2 separate regions of the Homo sapiens genome follow, and region 2 is linked to region 1. The links are contacts of gene promoters, found by promoter capture Hi-C in blood cells and fetal thymus (Javierre and others, 2016). All regions are on one chromosome and are shown on one strand. Each heading gives the region's core, a stretch centred on a gene start or on the middle of the fragment in contact. The rest is flanking DNA. Distances are from core to core; before and after follow the strand shown.

Evidence for each region. Contacts are between HindIII fragments. The CHiCAGO score rates a contact against its expected background, and 5 or more counts as called.
Region 2: a fragment that was not itself captured here is called in contact with the fragment with the promoter of FAR2 in region 1 in 1 of 17 cell types (erythroblasts); the score reaches 5.8 in erythroblasts.

Annotation. Positions count from the first base shown.
Region 1 is chr12:29,147,289-29,151,135 of GRCh38, forward strand. FAR2 (fatty acyl-CoA reductase 2) reads left to right here and starts at 1,990. Exons shown (of 12, transcript NM_001271783.2): 1 at 1,990-2,119. RefSeq lists silencers at 1,838-1,897, 2,208-2,357. The HindIII fragment of the contact is 9,301 bases long and covers 1-3,847 here.
Region 2 is chr12:30,782,429-30,786,771 of GRCh38, forward strand. No RefSeq gene overlaps it. Among named protein-coding and RNA genes, the nearest start is that of LINC00941, 11 kb to the right of the region's middle. RefSeq lists an enhancer at 3,061-3,562. The HindIII fragment of the contact is 1,504 bases long and covers 2,151-3,654 here.

The sequences.
Region 1 (3,847 bases), core at 740-3,239:
TCTCTCTCAAAGCCCTCATAAGGAACCAACCCTGCAGACATCTTGATCTTGGTCTTCTAGCCTCCAGAATTATGAAATAATACATTTCTATAGTTTAATCCACCCAGTTTATGTGCATCCTTATGACAGCCTTAGCAAACTAATACATTCTACATATATGAATAGCGTTTTAAATGGTGATAATCAAATTGTGGTTTTGTAATCTATAATTAATGTTGTATTTTATCTATGAACATCCCACTGAAAGTATGCTTTTAATTTCCTACTTTATAAACAACTCGGTAATAAATATGCAACTATGTACATGCGGCATTTCTCTTTTATGGATTATCTCCTTTGAATACATTGTAAGACATGGGAATCTAGGTCCAGAACAAGAAAAAATTTCGTTACTGAACACCTTGGGAATGTGTTGCTAAATTGCTTTCCAACAAAAGCGTGATTACAATTTACCTTCCATCTGCTATCTGTTAAGTGATTTCTATACGTTTTCACCAGCATTTGACATTATCATTTGAAGTGCTGTCACACACATTTTGAAGATACATTCAAATTTATTCTTGAGGAGGGGAGGGGTAACGAAAAATACTATAAATTTGGTTGTAACTTTTTTTCTGTCTCTTGCATTCAGGCGGTCACCAGAGGAAATTAGTCAGTGCCTTTAGGCTACACTTAGCTTAACACATTTCATTAAAGAGCCCAGTAGTAGAGAATTCAAGATGGGTGTTATTATTTTAATTTCATGAAATCACTCCTTAATTCTAACTTTCAAAAGTCAAATTTTATTTCTTTAATTGCATGTGGATTGTTATAATGAGGAGAATCAGAACAGCTTATAGGACAATATTTCTTTTCTATTTTTCTTAACACACCATATTTATTTGGAAATTTACCTCCTACATTGTCCAGGGAATTAGGATGGGCGTTGGCCGTTTTTCAGCACTTCCTGGTTGAGGCCAAGGGCTCCACTCACGTGCCTGTCCATCCCTCTACAAGGCTTCCCTGGCAGCTTGTTTTTCCGTTTAAAATTTAACAATGACCAAATCCCAAAAAAGCTACCAGGCTAAGAAATGAAACATCTTTTTTTCTTTTAAGTCCGGAGAAGTGCTGCTGAGCACAGCTGGCTCACTGCTGTTTCTGCGGCCCCCATCTCTGATCCTTTCTAGTCTCCTACCCACCCCCACCCCACCATAGGCAGGCAGAGCCGGATTTCTGCCCTTCAAACCCCGAGTGTGAGGAAGCCTCACCTGAAGTCCTCGCATCACCCTCCACCCTCACGCCCTTGGGTTTTAAAAAGCCACTGCGTTCGTGGGTCACTGCAGGGCGCCTCCGCAATGTCTTTAGCAGATACAAGAGCATCCCTCCCACGGGATGTGCAGTGTAGTCAAGCTGAGTAAACTGGGATTTTTGGCTGCCTTTTCTGCTAGGGTGGGTGGGGAAAGGTATGTCCCCCAAGCGTTCAGTTCAGACTAGAACCTTTGAATCTCTCTCCTGTCTCGGTCTCTCCCTCCACCCCCCTACCCCGCCACCTTTCACGGTGTGGGAGTTCTCCTTTCCCACACCAGAGAGGGGCGCCTTTCTAGCTTCCTTGTCCCCTCGCCCACTGATTAAAAAATGGAGAAAAAAACCAACCCCAAAACCCAAAACAAAACAAAACAAAAGCCCCAAACAAACAAACAAACCAAACCCACCGAAACCAAAACCAACTCCCCTCCCCCAAACCACACAAATGCGGGAGTCATAGCCAGTGGATCCGCTGGTGCTGAACGAATGGAAGCGCGGGGCGGGCCTGCGCGCGCGGCCGCCCTGCCCACGATGCTGTCGCCCCCGCGACCTGTAGGGCCTTCGCTGGCCCCTCACCCTCCTCCCGCCCCGGGCTGAGGCTGCCGCCGGTTTCGCGCCCAGTGCCGAGGCAGCGGCGGAGCCGGGGAAGGTCGGAGGGAGGGTGGTTTCCTCCCGCCCCACACCCAGTCTCCGAGCCGGATATATAGAGTGTCACGTTTGGGAGCCGAAAGACTGGAGCCGTTTCCTTGTGGCTGGAGCGCTTCCCGTAGCCTCGGGGAAGGAGCAGGATTTAGAGGACCACTAGTTGGACCCCATCCTCGTGCTGGAGGAACAGGTATTCCAGGGTCCCCAGCCCTGGCGCTCGCAGAGCCCACGCGCTCCAAAAGCAGAGACCGGACTGGGGGTGGCCCAGGAGGGAGGGCTCGGCTGGGTTCGCAGGGCGGGGCGGTTCCCGGCGGGACCTCGAGGAGGGTGGGTGTGAGGCCGGGTGGGAGGAGAGAAGCATTTGCGGAGGCTCTGCCCCCTGAAGCTGCCCCCGGCTGCACCCCAATCGTCACCGGCCGTTTACGCGCGGTTGGCGTCGGCGGAGCCCGCCAAGGTGGGGCGCGCGGGGGTTGCAAAGGGCAGAAAGCCGGGAAGGACCCAGCAAGGTTAATGTGGGGGGCCGCGCCTTGGGGACTGGGGACCCGGGAAGAGAGGCGCGGGGCCGAGTCCCACCCAGGCCTCCTGGGCCCTTGGGGCTATTCCTGGAGAGAGCGCGAAAATGCCGGGGCCACGTGTGAAACGGCAGCGGTCCTAGGTCCCCTCCCGGTGCCTGGGACCGCCAGGGCGCCCAGTCCTGGTCCCCGGAGCAGGTCCTCGCCAGCCCCCAGCCCCACCCCAGGCTGCGCACGTCCCTACCCTCCCACCTGGGCCTCGCCGGGGTCGTGGCTGACGCGCGCTGGGGCGACTGGTGAGGCCAGGGCGGGCTTTGCCCCTGTAGGAAGTTTTAGACATCTTCCTGCGGCCTGGGCATCCTGGGGGTGTGCAGGGGAGCAGGTGCCAGCAGACTCCCAACTGGAGTAGATGGCTTGCAGGAAGGCTGCTCAACACTCCTAGCAAGTAGAATTACCCGCGGGGCAGTCTCAGTCTATTAAAACAATTCATGCCCAATCGTATCCTACAAACCAGAGGAAGGCGTCTCACCTGCCAGCGGTGGCACCATTTCTTCCACGGTTGAGTTATGTGGTGTGAGCAACCAAGGTTATCGCTGGATCTGCAAGAGTTTGGCCACTCGTTGAATCACGTAAAGTGCCCCCATTATGTGATGAGCAAGGACAGAGTAGGGTCAGAAAAGTGACCAGGGAATTCAGGTAGATCGTGCTTTTCTGTTTGCTAGGTTGAGAGAAATTTGACACTGGGCAAATGGAAATTTGAGAATTACCCCGTGGTTTCAATTACCCATCTCTGTATATTCCCATTTATAAGAGCTGGAGATTTGACTGACAGGTGTAGTTAGTCCAAAATTTAGAAAGGGGGGCAAGGGACTAAATAAAAACTTAAGGCAGCCACCTAAACTGCAAGAGCAGGCATTTCCGCAGAAGGGATATTTGTGTGTGAGACTTCTAGGAGATGGGCATGAGGTTTTTACCAGGCCGACGCGTGTGTCAATATTTCATCGGTAGTATTTCTCAGGATCCACGTCTTTACAGTACTCTTTTCCTAATTCTGAGGGCTGCTTCTGCCCCTGCTGTATTAACAAATTCCTCACTTACTCCTATTTCTAACATTGGGCTATAATTATCTATAAAAGAGATGTAAATCACCATGAGTTGGTAAATCATACAGCTATTAGAGAAATTAAAGTAAATGAAAATATGCTTTCCTTAAAGGAAGCTAAAATGTGACATCCAGTTACAGAGGAAGAGGGAGAGGTTGAAAATAAATAAAATGGCTTATATTAGGGTATCACTTTGGGGTTTATAAAGCATATGATCATCTTGACCATCTCACCATCTGCTTTCCTATCTCCTGAGGAAGAAGCATTCTTGAGTGCATTTGTTTCTGGCAACGTCTCATCAGT
Region 2 (4,343 bases), core at 1,653-4,152, 1.6 Mb after region 1:
TCACTTTTGCTACATCCTAAACTACCCTAAAACTCAGAGGCTTAAAATAACAATGTTCTTCAACTCACAATTCTGCAGGTCAGCAATTTGGGCTAGGCTCAACCTGGCAGTTTTTCTATGGTCTTGTTCGTGCATTTGCAGTCAGCTGCAAGATATGCAGTCAGTTGGCAGTTGGCTGATCCGCTGGGCAGGCAGGGGTTGGAGGAATCCTAAGTAGCCTCACTTGGATGTCTGGCAGGTGGCCACCTGTCAGCTGGGACACTTGGTCCTTCTCCATGTGGTTTCATCTTCCACCAGGCTAGCCCAAGCTTGTTCACTTGGTGGCAGTGTCCAGAATTCACACAGTGTCACTTCTATCACATTCTTTCAGTCAGAGAGAGCCACAGGGCCAACCCAGATTCAAAGGGGTGGGAACACATCTCCCTACTCTCTTGTTTGGAGATGTATTGTGAGCATTTTTGCAATCTACTACAACTGAACTCACTATTCTTGCTATAGTAACCCACTACTTCCCACACCAATTGCTCCTGGATGCCATCCTGACTTTGATAGCCTCCAGGCATGAGGCCCACTTGGTCACTGATTCTTTGTGCTCATGCTCTTCTTTCCCTCAGCTGGTTTGGGTTACCAGTTTCTTCTTTCCTCTGATTCTACATGGATTTAGTCTCAAAAAATCCCCATAGTTTCTGATCTATTGATAATTTACTTATTTTTTTAGCATGGCCATGTATTCATGTAGAGCTAGTGTAACCATATGATTTATCATTCAAATTGTGACTTCTAAGAATGAAATGGGACACTATAAATAATCATGCTAGGACACCAAGCATAAACTGAGATGTCTCTGCTTAAAGCCCAGTGGTTATAAGCACAGGTTCTTGGACCCATATTGCTGGGGTTGGAATCTCAGCTCTGACAATTATTTGCCAGTTACTTAAACTCTTGGTGACAGTTTTCTCATCTATTAAATGTAGATAATAATAGTACTCACTTTAGAGGTTTTTTGTGAGGTTTAAATGAGATAACTTATATAAAATACGCATTATTTTTACATCATTTCTAAGGTCTCAAGTGGATGTGAGAATTACCTTCTTCATTTAATATTCTATCATATTCATGTATCACAAGATAAAGTTATTTCATAATCTTTGTATAATCAGTTTTAATGACTATATACAGTTTCATTAAAGGTTCTATAATTTACCTGAAAACTCTTCTATTAAATATTTAGATCATTTACACTTTTCCCTTATTATAAATTACGTTAAAATTTCATTGTGGATAAATACTTTGGCAATAAATTAAGTTCTTATGTTAATTCTAGAAAAAAGAATATTATATTAAAGAATATAAATATTTTAAGGATCTTGTTATATGTTGCCAAATTGCTTTCTCAAAGGATTACATTAATGCTTTCAAACAATAATCAGGAAGTTCTAACTTTAATACAACCTCATCAGCATTGAGTATCACACAACTTAATCTGCTGTACTCATTTAAAACACAATTTTAACAAACGTATTTTCTGGTTTCCCAGCCCTCACAAATTAAAAGCAAAAAATTCAAAGCAGTAAAAACTAATATTGGAAAAGGTATTTAGGCAGATTTTCTGATCACTTGGTAGTGAAAAGAAAGAAATATAAATATAAGAAATAAAATCCTAGACATCTTAGATCATTTAATGGCTAAACACATCTTCAGTCTTTAAAGTCCATGACATCATTGTTTGTTGCAGTATATAACAGTTAATGTTCATTGTAATAATACTAAATGATCCATCAACAAAAATCCAGATGACAGTAAACAAATTTTTGACAGAGCAGGAGCATCACCATCTTGGACAAGCCCCTCATTCTAAAGTTCACCTTAATAAAAAAAAAACGCCTAAATCCAAAGGGTATCAGCCTAATGGCTAAGGTCAGCATAAACCACAATAACCACAAATAACATCTCCAACCAGAAACATTCCAAACTCCTCCCCAATCAGAGACTTGCCAGCCCCGAGATAACCCCCCGCCAGCCAGGAAGATGCCAGCTCCGAGATAACCCCACTCCAAGCCAGAAAGATGTCTGCCCCAAGATAAACTCCCCTCCTCCCAGAGACATTCCAACCCCACCATAAAACTTGTCCCTCACACAGAAACATTCCAAGCTTCTAATAAGCCCCCTTACCCTAAAACCAATATGTTCTCTTAGTCTGTAAGAGAAAGTGCTCCTAACCAAAGTCAGCCAGAAGCCCCTCTCAGGTTTTATCAAAAGTAAACCTGTCTTTACTGTCAAACCACATTTCGTGTCTCTTTCCTGTTTCTTTAACTCTTACAATTTTGTTTTAGGGAGATTTCCATTAACAAGTAAAAATAAAATTTATGCTGAAAGAGGCCATCTCTGGCTGGCTGTATTTTCTTTTTAGACCTTGAATTGGTGTGAAGAGTCATAAGGGTTTGCTAAAGGAGGAGTGAGAAAGTGGGGAGGGTGTGAGCTCCATAATCAGGAATAAAAACCGGGGGTACAAGACCAGGGCAGAAAGTCATTTTAAAATTCCAGAACTTCTGACACATCTTCATATTGGTTATCATTTGTTATCTCCTTCCTATTTTCCTTGGAAGCAGAAGGGCCTGTCTACATATATTCTTGTCTTCCCAAGCAGCAAGGAAGTGGGAAGTTGAGAAAGCTATTTCCTCTCCACACTTTTTCAGGCATATTAAGAATAAGAGAACCCTGAAGGGTATAGTGGCTGGCTAGGTAATCGAAGAGAAAAAAGTAAGTCCTATTTCCTTAGCTCTGCAGCAAAGAAAGAAAGAACTTTGACATCAATCTTCATATGAAGAAAAGGTCATTAAGCTCAGTAGATTAAAAATCTGAAATGATTCTTTAACTGTATCAAACATAAAAATCACCTGGAGGGCTTGATAAAACAGAGATTGTTAATCCCTACTTCAAGAGTCTATGATTTAGTGGGTCTGAATAGAGCCTGTGAACCAAAAAGTGGCTGAGGCAGATCTCAATCGAGTTAGAGGTTTGTTTTGCCAAGGTTGAGGATGTGGCCAGGGAAAAAGAAACACAAGTTACAGTAGAATCTGCGGCCTGTACTTTTTCCAAAGAGGGTTTTGAGGACTTCAATATTTAAAGAGGAAAGAGCAGGTAGAAGAGGAAGGAGAAAAAAAAAGAGGCTGGGTGTAGGCAGTAACATGTTTACATTCTTGTGAGGCTTCTATTAGCCCTTAAAAACTACTCACTGAATCCACATTTTACATGTGAAAAGAGAGTGGTGGGGTTAAAGTCAATTATGCATTCTTCTCATGCTGCGTATATCTACATTTTACATAAGATAAAGTAAGCATAGAGTAGAGGAAGAACTCAATTATGCATTTGTTTGGGGTGGGTGGAGGAATTTCTAGTCTTATGTTTGGCCCTTACCTGTGAAAATAAGCTGTTAATTTGCATTGTCAGGGTAAGATTCAACAGCACTCTATTTTAGGGCAAGTTTATAGGAGGGATATGTATTCTGAAAGATGTGGAGTCCACGAGGAATTTCCTTGTGAGCAATTTGTGAGGGAGGACCCCTGGGAAGATATGTGACCTTCTATTTTGCAGCTATTTGGTTGGGAACAAAAAGGAAGGCAGTTTGATTGCTTTTGTGTGACTCAGTTCCCAAGCTTCACTTTCCCTTTGGCATAGTGAGTTCGGGGTCCCGAGATTTTTATTTTCCATTCACAGCCCTGAGAATTTGCATTTCTAATAAGTTGCTAGGTGATGCAGATAATGTGGGTCCAGGGACCAGATTTTGGGAACCACAGCAGGTATGGTTCCCAGTCCTGACTAATCATCAGAATCACCTGTGATGTTAAAAACAAAACAAGACAAAAAAAGAAAAACAAACAAACAAACAAAAAAACCAGATTCCCAAGAGCCTCATGCCAGAAGCCACCAATTTGAATCTTCAGAAGTGGAGCCACCGGGAACCTGTTTATTTGATAAAGCTCCCCATTAGATCCTGGCGTTCAGCAGATGCAGAGTTCCACAGCCCCAGAGTACTCAGGATTATGCTAAACATTTAGTCAGTGTCTAAGAAAGCCTTGATTGATGGGCTGATTTAGATCCGGAGGCACTTTCAGCAGTAAAATGTGAATCCTTTTGTATGCTAAGTTTTTATTTAATTTGTGATGATGATATTCTTTGGAGAAGATCTGTACTGGTCTCTTAGCTACATAAAAATGAGCACTTTTGTAAAGGAAGTTCTCACAATTCTAATAGACAAATTAAAAAACTCTAGCACAACCATGTAAATCATCAGAATATTTCCATAGCAATAGCACAAAAACTTAAAAAAAAATAAGGAGTCC